5 separate regions of the Homo sapiens genome follow, and regions 1, 2, 4 and 5 are each linked to region 3. The links are contacts of gene promoters, found by promoter capture Hi-C in blood cells and fetal thymus (Javierre and others, 2016). All regions are on one chromosome and are shown on one strand. Each heading gives the region's core, a stretch centred on a gene start or on the middle of the fragment in contact. The rest is flanking DNA. Distances are from core to core; before and after follow the strand shown.

Region 1 (2,700 bases), core at 170-2,669, 820 kb before region 3:
TAATGTTAGTAAATACTTTTCCTTAATTTTATAGTAAGCAGAAAATTTTTATGGTTGGGGTGGATGCAAAAGTGATACATAATAGTTTAGAAGACAACCAATTTTGTTTTACCAGCTGTTTGGGCATTTTTAGTACCCCCTTCTTGATTTGAAGGGTTTAATCTTGACCTTTTTTTTTTTTTCTTCGAAATAGAGTCTCGCTCTGTCACTTAGGCTGGAGTGCAGTGGCACAATCTCAGTTCACTGCAACCTCCACCTCTTGGGTTCAAGCGATTCTCTTGCCTCCGCCTCCCAAGTAGCTGGGATTACAGGTGCCCACCACCATGCCCAGCTAATTTTTGTATTTTTAGTAGAGATGGTGTTTTTCCATGTTGGCCATGCTGGTCTCGAACTTCTGACCTCAGGTAATCCGCCCACTGCAGCCTCCCAAAGTGCTGGGATTACAGATGTGAGCCACCATGCCTGGTCCTGTTTCCGTGTTATTTTAAGACCATCTTGGTCATGGTTTACTAAATGCTTTGTCCATCTGAATCACTGTTGCATAGTTGATGTTGATACCTGTGAGGCAGGCCTTCTGCTCAGGGCAACCTTGAGTATTTGTTGACAGTGGGAGTGGTTTTGTAGAACAAACAATGGCTTATTTGGAGAGCTCCACACAATAGATTATCCTCTCCTGTGGGAGCCAGAAAGAGATGAGCTCACAGATAATGGGTTTCTTCCTTCCTGGTAGTTACGAATAAATAATAGTGTGACAGACTCACCCTCTAGTGGTTGTTGGTAGTACTGAAACAGGAAGAATTGTCTCCTGGTTTGATTTTTCTTACTTTCAATTGCTTTCTCTGTTCCTAGTGGCTGGGCTTCCCAAATGTGATGTTGGTGAATAGGCTTCATTTTGAAAGAGCTGGAGGTATTGTCTTTAGAAATTGGAGGATGGAATCTTACCTCTTAACACATTTGTTGAGTAGCAGACATGACCTTGGAATGACTGTGAAAATTACTTTTCAAGTTTATACCTCATCAGTACCAAAGCCAGATCCTCCTGTGATGTAGCAGGAAGCCCTTTATTAGTTTTTCTCTATCAATCCATCTTTTATAATTTCCAAAATAGGATAAGGAGAAGCTTAAATATGAAATGTATTTAAAGGTCTTATCCTACCAGTTGTTTCCTGTGTGTAAATGCCTAATTTCCTGTTTGGTTAAGGAACTGTTCTCAGACTTCTGTGGCATTGAGTCAGTTGCTTTGGTTAATTCTGTTCTCTGAGAGTTTATCCTGATCTCTACCTAGACAAGTTAATAACTGTCAGATATCATTCAAATAAATGATAAGTAGTAAGGATTTGGTTCTTTCTTTTTGATTAGCCTTTCCTGAATGCTTGTTACTTTCTAAGCCTGCAGACTTCAAAGAAAAAAATGTAGTTTTAATTAAATTGCAGGTGTTTTTAAAATTATTACCTTTTATTTTTACTAACCCATTGAGGAAAATTGATCAGTATATTATTCATGCAAAGGAGAGATAAGATGAGCACACTGAAACTCCAGTTAATCCTCCTTTGCAGATGAGGGTAATGGGAATGTCCAGGAAGCTAGCCATAATGACTTGATGTATTCTCTTGGTTCTTCCAAAACTTCTCAGGAGCTATGAAGACATGATTGGTGAGGAGGTGCCATCGGATCAATACTACTGGGCTCCTTTGGCCCAGCATGAGCGAGGAAGTTTAGCAAGCTTGGATAGCCTGCGCAAAGGAGGGCCTCCACCTCCTAATTGGAGACAGCCAGAGCTGCCAGAGGTGATCGCCATGCTTGGATTCCGCTTGGATGCTGTCAAGTCCAATGCAGCTGCATACCTGCAACACTTATGCTACCGCAATGACAAGGTGAAGACTGACGTGCGGAAGCTCAAGGGCATCCCAGTACTGGTGGGATTGTTAGACCATCCCAAAAAGGAAGTGCACCTTGGAGCCTGTGGAGCTCTCAAGAATATCTCTTTTGGACGTGACCAGGATAACAAGATTGCCATAAAAAACTGTGATGGTGTGCCTGCCCTTGTGCGATTGCTTCGAAAGGCTCGTGATATGGACCTTACTGAAGTTATTACCGGTGAGTTCTAGGCCTAAGGAAAATTGCTAAGTCAGTGTTACTCTCTAGTGATGTTGAGAACTAGAGGGATTTCCAGACCTTTTACTTTTGATGAAAGGTTGTGAACTGGTGGCTGTGGGTCAAATCCATCTCACAGATTTGTTTGGATCACACAGCATTATTGAAATTTTAAAGAACTGGTTGCTGATGTTTAAAATTCAGAAGATTTCACTTAAAATTCCAGATTCTTGGCTTCTATTAAAAACGTGGAAGAGTTGTTAACAATGGATCTCTTTTCTTCCTTAGCAGTATTTGGTCTGAACTGATTGGAGCATGTGCTCTCTAATTTACACTAATCTCCAACACATTCTATTATCTGACCAACTACAGCTGTTTAGGAAGTTGTTTCCCAAACATGGAGCTGTCAACTGCTATTTTTTCACATGCTTGTAATTTCTTTTAATTATCTTCCTCTCTTGACTCACCGGCTTGACCCATATAGACATTTAAGCTTGTGGTTCTTGCTTTATTTAGAGCAGTAGTTTTTCAGATTGTGGGTTGTGATCTATTTGTGTGATCCGTTAGTGAATAAAACAAAATTTTGTGGAGCATAATCAGCATTCC
Region 2 (2,700 bases), core at 157-2,656, 800 kb before region 3:
ACTGGAATTCTTCTGCAACATTTGACAAAACTAACCTTGAATAAGGCCCACTGTAATACGTAGCTCTCTTAAATATAACACTTAGGACTAGAAGATTAGAAACTACCAATCCCAACTACGTAATAGGAAAATGTAGGATCAAAAGGCCCATGTATATAAGTACTGACCACTGGGCCATAATGTTGCTTCTCAGGCTATATGCAGTCCTTTAGTCAGAAGTCAATAGGCCTATTTATTAATATTTTACAGACCATATTACCTGGATTACCAGGGACTATCTTTGCTGCAGAGATCAAGGGTTAAGATCTATGGGAAGATACTTATTTTTCTGAGGTCCTTATGTCCTGTCATATAATTAAAGACTCAAGAGAATTTATGTGAAATGCTTTCTGTATGCCCAAATCTTTAGATTAAAATTATATAGCTGCTCCTGATGATGGTCCTGTCTTGTTTTATTGAACTAGGACTTGGGTATGAAAACTTTCATGGGCTAGTGAGACCAGGAAATCAACTAGCTTTTAAAGCTTGATTTGTGTCTAACAATTGTAGTGTTAGATTAGAGGTTGAAGTACAAAGCCAAAAAGCTATTAAGAGTTTACTTTCCAAAGAGTTTTGATAGCCCTGCTTGAGATGATTTTTATCTAAATAGAAAAGCCTGGCTGCTTGTCAGCAACACTTTATTTCCCTGTTATGTTCTTATCCTTTGGCATTGAGCTAGATACAAACCCTACTCTTCTCTCTTCCTTCTGGATTGGTCCATTTGTTTATCTCATTCAATAAATATTTGCCAAGCACCTCCTATATGCTAAGCGTTGTGTCAAGGTTAGGTTTAGATTAGAGAGTGAAACAGATGGATCTTTTCTCATAGATTGCAATCCATGAGAATCCTCTATAGCTAAGATCTATGATCAGACGAGATCGTGTGCGTTCAGGGTGATATGGCCATAGACAAGATCTATGATCTTAAAAACACTTCTCTCTGTGCCATATCTAAATACAATGAGATGTTACACAGAATGATGTGTAAAGGCCCTATCTCACAAGTTTCTTGACACTGATGTACTTTGTGACAGAGGTCAAAGCTGGGACCTCACTTGGCCACTTTTTTTTTTTTAGACAGAGTCTTGCTCTGTCACTCAGGGGCACAATCTCGGCTCACTGCAACCTCAGCCTCCTGGGTTCAAGCGATTCTTCTGCCTCAGCCTCCCGAGTAGCTGGGATTACAGGTGTGTACCACCACGCCTGGCTAATTTTGTATTTTTAGTAGAGACAGGATTTCACCATGTTGGCCAGGCTGGTCTCAAACTCCTGACCTCAAGTGATCCACCCTTCTTGGCCTCCCAAAGTGCTGGCATTACAGGTGTGAGGCACTGCGCATGGCCGGCCACTTGTTTTTCTTGCTGAACTAATTTTCTTTGCTACAAACTGGAATCACCTCACCCAGGAAGAACTAAGAACCAGTCTTTCCATATCATTTTTTTCTCATTTTGTCTATTTTTATATCTGAAGCAAAGGTTCTTAATATTTTCATAGATGGAATTGACTAGACCTAGCCCTGTATATCTGAGCAAGTTACATAAGAATTCCCTGTATGCTTGTTGAAAATGCAGAGTCCCATGTTCCATTTCCAAAAATCGATTCAGTAGGTGGGACTGAGGAATCTAAAATCATGGTAAGTCATCCAGGTTATCCTCTTTTTTTTTGTTTTTGTTTTTGTTTTTTTTTTTGAGACGGAATTTCACTCTTGTCACCCGGGCTGGAGTGCAATGCCACGATCTCAGCTCAGTGCAACCTCTGCCTCCCGGATTAAAGCGATTCTCCTGCCTCAGCCTCTTGATGAGCTGGGACTACAGGCACCCGCCACCACATCCAGCTAATACTTGTATTTTTAGTAGAGACGGGGTTTCACCATGTTGGCCAGGCTGGTCTTGAACTCCTGACCTCAGGTGATCCATCCACCTAGGCCTCCCAAAGTGCTGGGATTACAGGCATAAGCCACCATGCCTGGCCCATCCAGGTTATTCTGATGTATGTGGTCAGTTAACTGTGACTTAAGGGACTGATCTAGTGACTTGCTTAAGGTTATAGCCTCAAAGTGGAACCCAGGATTACTGGCTTCAACTCCACTGGCAGTAATACTAGCATGGTGAATGTAGACAATATGATGTGGTGATCACCATTTTAAGAGAGCATTCATAGAGGAAACTTTATCTCAAAGGAATGCATTGCTTTCAATAGAGTTTGAGATAATGGTAAGTGATAGGTTGGTGTGTGGTATCTGGGTAGGAGAAGCTTCTCATCCTGAAAATCATATGTAGGTAATGCTCAGGTTGCTGAGGCAGGAAGCTAGCCCTTAATTTGGGGTCCTGTAGGTCACAGAGAATCCCCTGGAATTGCCGACTTTGACTTAAGTGTCACTTCTAGCTACAAAGGGTATCTCAACTGGCGAGCAAGTGGCCCCATTGGCTAAAGCCAAGGAGACCACATCTGGAAACTTAAATCACTCTGGTAGCTTCCAGAAAGAGCTACCTCAGGAAAGCTCAAAAAAGAAACAAGATAATTGTTAGGAACAATTTTTTTTCACACAGCTTTAAGACTGTTCTGTTGCCTGTGTCACTTAAAGCATTAGTTCTTCAACTGATCCATCCAGGATTTAGAGACAGACATGGATGAAGAGAAAGCTGGAGGAGGTAAGATAGG
Region 3 (2,700 bases), core at 174-2,673:
ACTTGGAAATCTTGATGTTTTGACAACTGCCTCCTAGGAAAACTGGCCATATGTTAATTAACCTAGTAGATGGAAAATTAAGGATTATGTGAGGTTAATTTTACCCTGATAATGACAAAACCTTGATAGCATTTAATATTAATACTTCTTCTCAAAATTGAATGTTTATATCAAGTACTGATTTTTATTTTAAAAAAGAAAAAACTATAATCCTTCTGCCTTCCAAAAGCCATGCTGTGATAGCTGCCCAGGCTGCTCTGTTACATCTCCCATTTATTGTTTACTTTTATAAATTTGCTTCTAAGATGGTATGTGTTTCAGCTTATTGGCAATATCTATGATATAAATAATGAAAGCTAATTATTTCATTTAGCCCTTACCCAATAAGCATCATTTTCTAAGTTAAATGCAATAGAATGACAACCCTCCAAGTACCTTTTAACTTTTATACTGTCATTTCAAAGCCCAGCTCATTCTCTTATTTTAAGAAGCATGTGGTATGACTGGGTAGGGGAGAAAAAAGGAAAGCATGTTGTCACTTGAGTGAGACTGCTTTAGAAATGTTACCAAGTTAGCGTTGGGTGTTTCCTGTTCTTTGGAAGAGAACAGGCCTAAACAGTACCTTCCTCCTCCTATGTAGCTACCAGGAAGGCACCGTGATTGAAATTAGAGATGCTTCCTTGCTTGATTTTTAAGTATAAATTAAATTACCTTTAAAAAGTACGTAAGGTTAGGAGTGAAAAAAATCCTGTTTTTAAAGGACTTCACACACCCTTTGTTTCTTGAACAAGATGTGAACTACCTAAACAGAAAATGAAATTGGAAAGTCAGTGGGAGAGACAACTATAGAATCAGACTTCTATTTAAATTCAAGCCTCGTTACTTGATTTTGTGCATGTTATTTCTTGAAGTTTCAGTTTCTTATATGGAGAAATAACATTTACCTCAGAAATATTCTGAAGATCAAATGGAATTGCTTTAAAGTATTTAGCTTACTGACTGACCCATGGTAGATACTTAATAAATGGCAGCTGTGTCAATAACAATTTTATTGAATGAACATTTCGCCAGCCTATGAGAAAAAAGACATGGGAAGCATAAGGGAGAATGATAATAAAATGAACTAATTCTAAGTGTGTGAGATAGATTACATTAGGCAGGGGTGCCATGAGGATTGGTATGATAGTGACCTTGTTGCTAAGTGCAAAAGCAAAACAATGACATAGAAACAAGTGTGCTAAGTACTGAGTGGAGGAGAGAGATGGAGGCAGACGCTGCAGGGGAAAAAAAATCTGATTAAAAAGGGCCCTTTGATTCCACAGGCACAAAAATCCACAGCCAGGAATTTGCTACCTCCTCTGAGTCAGGCAGGGCGTGGGGGTGGGGTGCACAATCCCATTAGTAGAGAATGCCCAGTGGGTTTAGTCTTTGAGAGTCACATCTCTTATTTGGACCAGTATAGACAGAAGTAAACCCAGCTGACTTGTTTCCTGGGACAGTTGAGTTAAGGGATGGCTTTCACAGAGCATTCACCGCTGACCCCTCACCGTCGGGACCTCTGTAGCCGCTCTATCTGGCTAGCAAGGAAGATTCGTTCAGACCTGACTGCTCTTACGGAATCCTATGTAAGTTGCCTATTTTGCTGTTATCTGTTTTCCCTTCATCTTTTTTGATCCAGCAACTTACCATCACGCATCAGCTCCATTACCAATTGTGAAAGCTCTAATCATATAGTCATTCATATAGGTTATTTGACATGGGCCCTTCCCTTGAGGAAACCCATGTGACTTTATTTTCTTCCTCTGGGCTGTTTAGGAGATGAAGTTACTTGAATGAGAAAATATATATGGAGTTCTAGAAAGGATTGGTTTATATGTCTTGGAGGCTATTCCAAATTTATTGGCATATATTCTGAATACTACTAGAACAGATTAGCCATGGGCCCTCTGGGTTCTTCATAGCCATTGTTCTGAATTTTTTAGCTATGTAAATGAAAGGTTTATGGGATAGGAAGAGTACTATGAACGTGGGAGGAATTTGTAAATCCTACCAATTTCTCCTATATAGCATTAGCCACCCACCTTTTAGTATTCTGCATCAAAAGTAGATTGTGTCTAAAGAGAAAGGTAAGCTATCAAAAGGATCTCCTAGAAGATTCATTGGAAACTTGTGGAAGTGTCAAATTCTTGAGCTAATTCTGGAGTTCCAGATTTGTCTTCTAACAGTAAGGGGATCCCCATCAATTTCCACCTGAGATATGCTGTGGAAATACTCCAACCCCTGTGGAGAGTTTTGAATTTAGGCTGAGAACTGATTTATCTTTGTACAGCCTCACCAGACAGAAATCAGACTCTTTGGGAGTGCTCAATGGGGAGAGGGAAGTTAGAGAAATTCTACAATGGCTATATTCCAAGTTTTCCTAGTTGTGGCCAGTGTCTTTTACAAGTATGTTTAAAAATACTTTAATATGATTAAAATATTCCAGTTAATGAGAGAGTTTGAAGTGAGAAGGAAAAATTCTTCTAAATCAGTTTTCAACCTTTAGAACTCAATAAAATCTGAACATTCTTCTAAGAAAAATCCATAGGTAGTCAATTTCAGGCAGTATTGGGTCTTTCTAAAGTCCAGTCATAGAGCCCAAATTAAGAGTTCCTACTGTAGACATATTATTTACTTTACAACTTGGATCCTTGGCCAGAG
Region 4 (2,700 bases), core at 174-2,673, 550 kb after region 3:
GTAATAATAATGGCCTATGATATAATTAGTCGAGGTATCCTTGTTTTCTTTTTGTTCTTCTAATTCTGAAACTCGACATTTTAATGAGTGGTATTGTTTAGGTTGGATTAGGAACAGTCCCCAAATAAGGGAGAGGCCGACTAGGCATTTTGGAGGCCAAGCTGTGCAAGAAGACCAGAAAGAACAAAGCTCAGAGGTTCCTTGAGCCTGGTGCCTTTAGGGGCCTGAAGAAGAACAGATCTCACACTTTTTCTTTTGCTTTGTATTTAGAACTCTGTTGGGAGAAAGATAAAGGTAGAAGGATGCAAAATTCTAACAATGGGAGAAATGACAGCTGCAAGGAGAGGGAGGGGGAAGCAACTCTTCTAAAACATAAAAGGGTCATATGATATTTATGAAAAAATTGATTATTTCAAAAAGATTCACAATCCCATTCTCTAACACATAATCTATTTTTACTTTCCCGCATCCTATAACTTGGATCTTGATAAGACTCGATTCGTTGTTTTATGTGGTTTGCAATCTCAACAAAACAAAATTTGTGTTCTTTGACAAGGATAATGCATAATCCTGACTTCAGTCTTCCCTTTTAGTCAGAACCTACCTATTTAAGGTTATTTTCCATATTAACTATTGATGATCAAAATAAGTCTAACTCGTGTTTTTCCTAGTGTTTCATAATTTTAGTTACAGAAACGATGCAGATAAAATTAATCTAACATGCGTCTTCCTGACTCTAGTACGTTGAATCTGGCCAGAAAAACCACATTTGCTCTCTACGTAGGTAATATAAATCCATCATTAGCGAAATTGCTGCATCCCTTTGGACTGGGTCTCATTAGCAGAGGTTGGAGTGGCCACTGGCCGGCACACGACACTTTAGGCCAGCAGGGGGCGGGTAAGCTCCAGGGCACTCGCCCGAGCAGCAGGGGGCGTGTCTTCTGCTTCCTTGACGGACAGCTAAGGATGCGGGAGAGGATGAGGTAATAGGAGCCGGGGCAAGGAAGGAGTTGGGGTGCGCGCGCGTGTGTGTGCGACTGTGAGTGTGCCAGTGCGTGCGCAAGCCCCGAGACAATGCGTGTCTCCAGTTCGCGCTGCGGACACTGATCATGCTGCATTAAGGAAAAAAAAAGAGAGAGAGAGAGAAAATTACATTTGGGGGAAGGAGGCTGCAAAGTTGCGGCTGGGCGACAGTGGTGGTCCCGGGGCCGTGTCATGGCGGGTCGCTTCTCTGCATCAAGGAACCAGGGAAACACACGCGGGCGCGGGTTTGCCTTAGCGCCCTGCTTGGGAGGGGTGGTTCATTCTGGAAGGAACTGAGCAGAGCCACAGGCAGGGGGAGCTCTCCCAGCGGCGGGGACTGCAATTCGTGCGGCGAAGGGGTGGGGAGGGAGGGAGAGAGGGGAGGGGACCAGAGCGTGCCATTCCGAGCGCGGCCGTGCGGCGAGATCCCACCCCGGCGTCTGCAGAGGCCGAGGCGCAACTGGTGCGAGGGCTGGGTCCTTGCCTCGCCGTCAGCCCCAGCTCGCGGCCGCCGGGGCTCGGGCCGCGCGCCCGCCGAGTGGCTTTTGCAAGGCGGGGGCCTGTTTGCAGAGAGCCGGGCATTTGCATGAAGCGACTCGACCCCACAGAGCAGCGGCAGCAGCAGCGGACCCCGGCGGCGGCGGCGGCGCGCGGTCCCAGCCAGGCGGCCCCGGTGTCCCGGCCCCGGTGGATGCACGGCTGGGGAGGAGCCCATGGGCCGGAGCTGAGGCTGCCCGGGGCGGCGGGGCGCGGGGCAGGGGGCGCGGTCGAGGCCCGGAGGCGGCGGCGCAGGAGGAAGCGGAGGAGGTCGGGCGCTCGGGGCCCGGGAGGCGGGCCGCGCAGCGCCGCAGCCCCGGGCTCGCCATGCTCCTGGCCTCGGCCGTGGTGGTCTGGGAATGGCTGAACGAGCACGGCCGCTGGCGTCCCTACAGCCCAGCGGTGAGCCACCACATCGAGGCGGTGGTCCGCGCCGGCCCCCGCGCGGGGGGCAGCGTGGTGCTGGGCCAGGTGGACAGCCGTCTCGCGCCCTACATCATCGACCTGCAGTCCATGAACCAGTTCCGCCAAGACACGGGTGAGCCAGCCGCCCCTGACCCCGCCCCGCCTGCTCCCACCTTCCCAACCTGCCAAGGTACCTCCCTCCCTGTGAACCCACCTTGGCCACCTAGTCGGCACTTCTGTGCAGCAGTGTCACCAAGAGGTGGTGGTGGGAGGCGATTCACTCCGCTGAATCCTCGCAGGATCCTCCCTCCCCCTTAAACATCCATGCAAATAGTATCAGTGTTGTGGTTTTGCAAACCCAGCTTCAACCTAGTCGGTAACAATCCACTCCCCACCCCTTTCATGCCCCCGCTTTTCAGCAGTTGGTGGCCCTAAGTCTTTCTATGTAGAAATTCTAGGGCCGCCCCAGACTACAGGCAATCCCAGCCCTTCGCAAAGGCTTCCTGCCCTCATCCCGTGGCGGCCGGCACCTTGGCTGACCTGACCCTGTTTTGCTTCAGGCACGCTGGGGCTTGCCACACGTCCCCTCACCCCCGATCTCACTGCCTCTGCGTCTCCTGTGTGGGATGCCTCCCCGCAGCTGGGTCCTGGGTGTGGGAACTGGGGGAGGAAGAAGGGATTCCCCGGAGGTTCTCGCTACAGTCGGGTAAGGGAAGCGCCGGGCTCCCTGGGAGG
Region 5 (2,700 bases), core at 137-2,636, 940 kb before region 3:
AATTATCTTCCCAGGCTGTAGGAGTCAAGTGAGTCACCCTTTCTCTTCTTCCCCAGGCGGAAATTGAAGTGACAACTTAGTACTAGGGAGGGGCTCTGACCTGGATGACTGGTTTTCAGTTTCTCTCCCTCCTTCTTAAGGAACCTAGGAGGTCAGGCTTTGGGGTGAGGCGGTGCAGGAACTCTTCTTTTTGCTTATATTCCACTCCAAACCCTGCCAATGTATGGAGACATCTTTTCTGAACCAAAGAACTCACAGAGGAAGAAGCTTCCATGGGGGGCTTTCTTTGAGGATAGTATAGAACTATGACTGAAGGTCTGTTTAGTCCCTAAAATTGATGCCCTTGCTCCAGCTTCGTTATTTTGTCTGCTAATTGTGTACTGACATATCAAGAGAACCAAACAGCTAATGGATATTTACTATCTAAAAAGCCTGGCATATAATAAATACTAAAAACTTTTCAAAATGAATGGCTGAATGGAATTTGAATAAATAGATGGTGGTGGTAAAGATTTGTGAGATGCTTTGTGACAGTTTTGTCTCTTATCTTGATTTGCTTGTATCTCGTTAAGGAACTGAGTTCCTCCAAACTGCTCTGAGTCAGTCTCAGGGCTGTGCTTTTTGTTTTGGTGGGTGCAGATACCTTTTCTTCACAGAATCCCAGACTGCTGTGGTTTAATTCTCTGGAATCATATGCTGTCTTGTTCTCCTGTCCTCTTCTTCCTTTCCTTCAGTGAGTTCTTCCTTTGCTTTGACTGGTTCAGATAAAGGGGACAAGGACAGATGCTGTCCTCATTCTGGAGATTAAGTTCTCAGCCACAAAGTAGATTAGAGTATTTATCCACTGTCTTGGTAGTGGGAACTTCTCCCTGAGCTGAGACGAGAGTGTTTGATACTACTGACAAAAAAGTAGCACATCAGGTTCTTCCAAAACTTCCAGCTCCCAGGAAATCAGCAGAGAAAGGAAGAGCTCTTGAAGCATTCCTACGTAGATTCAAATCCTGAAAGAAACTGAGTTTAATTCTGGACTAGAGAATTGTTTTTTTGATCAAGAAAAGTTACCTTAAAGCATATCTTGAGTTGACTGCTGTGGAATACTGGGTATGTTTGGGTAGTTTCTTTTTCCTACAAAATTGAGGGCTTCTTTGGTCTGATAGTCTCTATCCTCCCCCATTCCTGCTTCATTTTTAGACATCAAAGGGTTTACTTCTGTGTCTTGATATCCATTCTCATCTGTGTGTTTTAAAAGAATTTCCCAACCTTAAGAACTGGCCTGTAGTTGAGTAAACTCTCAGGCATATCCAATGCAATGGAGATACTTTAGGCACTTATGTGGTTCAGTCCCCTGGCAAGGGGGAGGCGGGGGCTAGAAAGGTAGGTGGTATCCCATGCTTTGGGCCAATGTGCAGGTCAATGGGACATAGCTGGGATCCAGAAACCTCAGGCTGCTCCAGAGAAGGGAGTGTAGCTGATATCATAGTCAGTACCTGGTTCTCATGTCTGGTTAGAAAGGAGATAAGGACAGATCTCAAAACATGTGGCAAGATCCACAGGGTAGGAATGAATCTGAAGCACAAAGACCTTAGTGCAACAGGTTAAGATGGGAGAGATTCTGAGTCTTGTACTTTTATCTAAAGTGAGCAGTTCCCATAGGAAACTAGACTCACTTAGTGGGAAAGATAAAGATAATAATTTGGGATGGCAAAGGTAAACCACACAAGATTTATCTATAGGTAAGGGGCTAAGTCTTTACAGATTTTTGTATGTATGGTTCGTGTCCAAAATATTAGAGGCAACCCCTCATTTTCTTTATTGTCTGTGCAGGTGTCCAGGACTAAGCCTGTATGTGTCACCTGCAGTGCCCATCTACAATGCAATTATGTTTCTCTTTGTGTTGGCCAACTTCAGCATGGCCACCTTCATGGACCCAGGGATTTTCCCTCGAGGTAAGATCTGCTTCTCTCTTAGAAGCACCTTACACTGCCTTTGAAAAATAATGAGTTGGCCATACACAGTTGATCTTGGGCCTTAAGAGTCCTGGGATTTTGGGATATGAAAAATAATGATTTGGGCATACGCAGTTGATCTTGGGCCTTAAAGTCCGGGGATTTTGGGATACTTTTATCATTTTCTGATGATGAAAATCAGGTCAGGGTCTTTAGGAATATATGTCATAACTTCTAGTCCTATGATTCACTTTGGGTCAAATCTTTGAGTTTTAGTGATTTGTTCAGCAGAAATTTATTTAAAGCATATGGGTTGGATGCTATTTTTAGGTACAGTAATACCCACAGTGAATTAAGACAGTTATGACAGTGTGATGCAGACTATAATGGAGGCAAGAGCAAGGTTCTGTGAGAATACAAACAATTGAGAACAAAGAAATATGAGAACATATTTTGCCCAAATAAATTGGGGAAATGCTGCTGAAAATAGGTGGGAAAGACTTTACCAAGTAGAATATAGGAGGGAAGGGCATTTTTAGGCAGAGGAAACAGCACATGCAGAAGCTTGTAGCCATGAAATGGCAAACTTAGTGGGGCTAGAGGATGTTATGCATGGTGTGACCAGAGGGATGGGAGGTAAACCCAGAGCCAAATTGTCAAGGACTTTACATACTAAGTTAAATAGATCATACATTTTCCTTTGGATAGGAAGAGGTCTTTAATTGGAGGACTCAACATCAGAATTCCTTTTAGA

What was found. Contacts are between HindIII fragments. The CHiCAGO score rates a contact against its expected background, and 5 or more counts as called.
Region 1: a fragment that was not itself captured here is called in contact with the fragment with the promoter of CNTF in region 3 in 1 of 17 cell types (total CD8 T cells); the score reaches 6.9 in total CD8 T cells.
Region 2: a fragment that was not itself captured here is called in contact with the fragment with the promoter of CNTF in region 3 in 4 of 17 cell types (total CD4 T cells, naive CD4 T cells, naive CD8 T cells and 1 more); the score reaches 7.8 in total CD4 T cells.
Region 4: the fragment with the promoter of DTX4 here is called in contact with the fragment with the promoter of CNTF in region 3 in 5 of 17 cell types (total B cells, naive B cells, neutrophils and 2 more); the score reaches 8.8 in total B cells.
Region 5: a contact is called between a fragment that was not itself captured here and the fragment with the promoter of CNTF in region 3, in 3 of 17 cell types (naive CD8 T cells, monocytes and naive CD4 T cells). The highest score is 8.3, in naive CD8 T cells.

The regions. Positions count from the first base shown.
Region 1 is chr11:57,800,100-57,802,799 of GRCh38, forward strand. It overlaps CTNND1 (catenin delta 1), which reads left to right. Exons shown (of 21, transcript NM_001085458.2): 7 at 1,634-2,097. TMX2-CTNND1 (TMX2-CTNND1 readthrough (NMD candidate)) reads left to right here. Exons shown (of 21, transcript NR_037646.1): 8 at 1,634-2,097. Among named protein-coding and RNA genes, the nearest start is that of CTNND1, 40 kb to the left of the region's middle. RefSeq lists an enhancer at 414-653. The HindIII fragment of the contact is 603 bases long and covers 1,119-1,721 here.
Region 2 is chr11:57,818,747-57,821,446 of GRCh38, forward strand. CTNND1 (catenin delta 1) reads left to right here. Exons shown (of 21, transcript NM_001085458.2): 21 at 1-794. It overlaps TMX2-CTNND1 (TMX2-CTNND1 readthrough (NMD candidate)), which reads left to right. Exons shown (of 21, transcript NR_037646.1): 21 at 1-434. Among named protein-coding and RNA genes, the nearest start is that of CTNND1, 58 kb to the left of the region's middle. The HindIII fragment of the contact is 1,768 bases long and covers 523-2,290 here.
Region 3 is chr11:58,621,242-58,623,941 of GRCh38, forward strand. CNTF (ciliary neurotrophic factor) reads left to right here and starts at 1,424. Exons shown (of 2, transcript NM_000614.4): 1 at 1,424-1,625. The coding sequence starts at 1,512. ZFP91 (ZFP91 zinc finger protein, atypical E3 ubiquitin ligase) reads left to right here. Exons shown (of 11, transcript NM_053023.5): 11 at 1-309. It overlaps ZFP91-CNTF (ZFP91-CNTF readthrough (NMD candidate)), which reads left to right. Exons shown (of 13, transcript NR_024091.1): 12 at 1,525-1,625. The HindIII fragment of the contact is 9,454 bases long and covers 1-2,700 here.
Region 4 is chr11:59,170,709-59,173,408 of GRCh38, forward strand. It overlaps DTX4 (deltex E3 ubiquitin ligase 4), which reads left to right and starts at 1,424. Exons shown (of 9, transcript NM_015177.2): 1 at 1,424-2,098. The coding sequence starts at 1,888. LOC124902601 (basic proline-rich protein-like) reads right to left here. Exons shown (of 2, transcript XM_047427951.1): 1 at 2,557-2,700; 2 at 1-2,022. The coding sequence ends at 1,214. RefSeq lists enhancers at 561-1,101, 1,188-1,482, 2,110-2,700, 2,381-2,490 and silencers at 1,361-1,930, 1,991-2,040. The HindIII fragment of the contact is 13,201 bases long and covers 1-2,700 here.
Region 5 is chr11:57,680,598-57,683,297 of GRCh38, forward strand. ZDHHC5 (zDHHC palmitoyltransferase 5) reads left to right here. Exons shown (of 12, transcript NM_015457.3): 3 at 1,825-1,946. Among named protein-coding and RNA genes, the nearest start is that of ZDHHC5, 14 kb to the left of the region's middle. The HindIII fragment of the contact is 2,243 bases long and covers 266-2,508 here.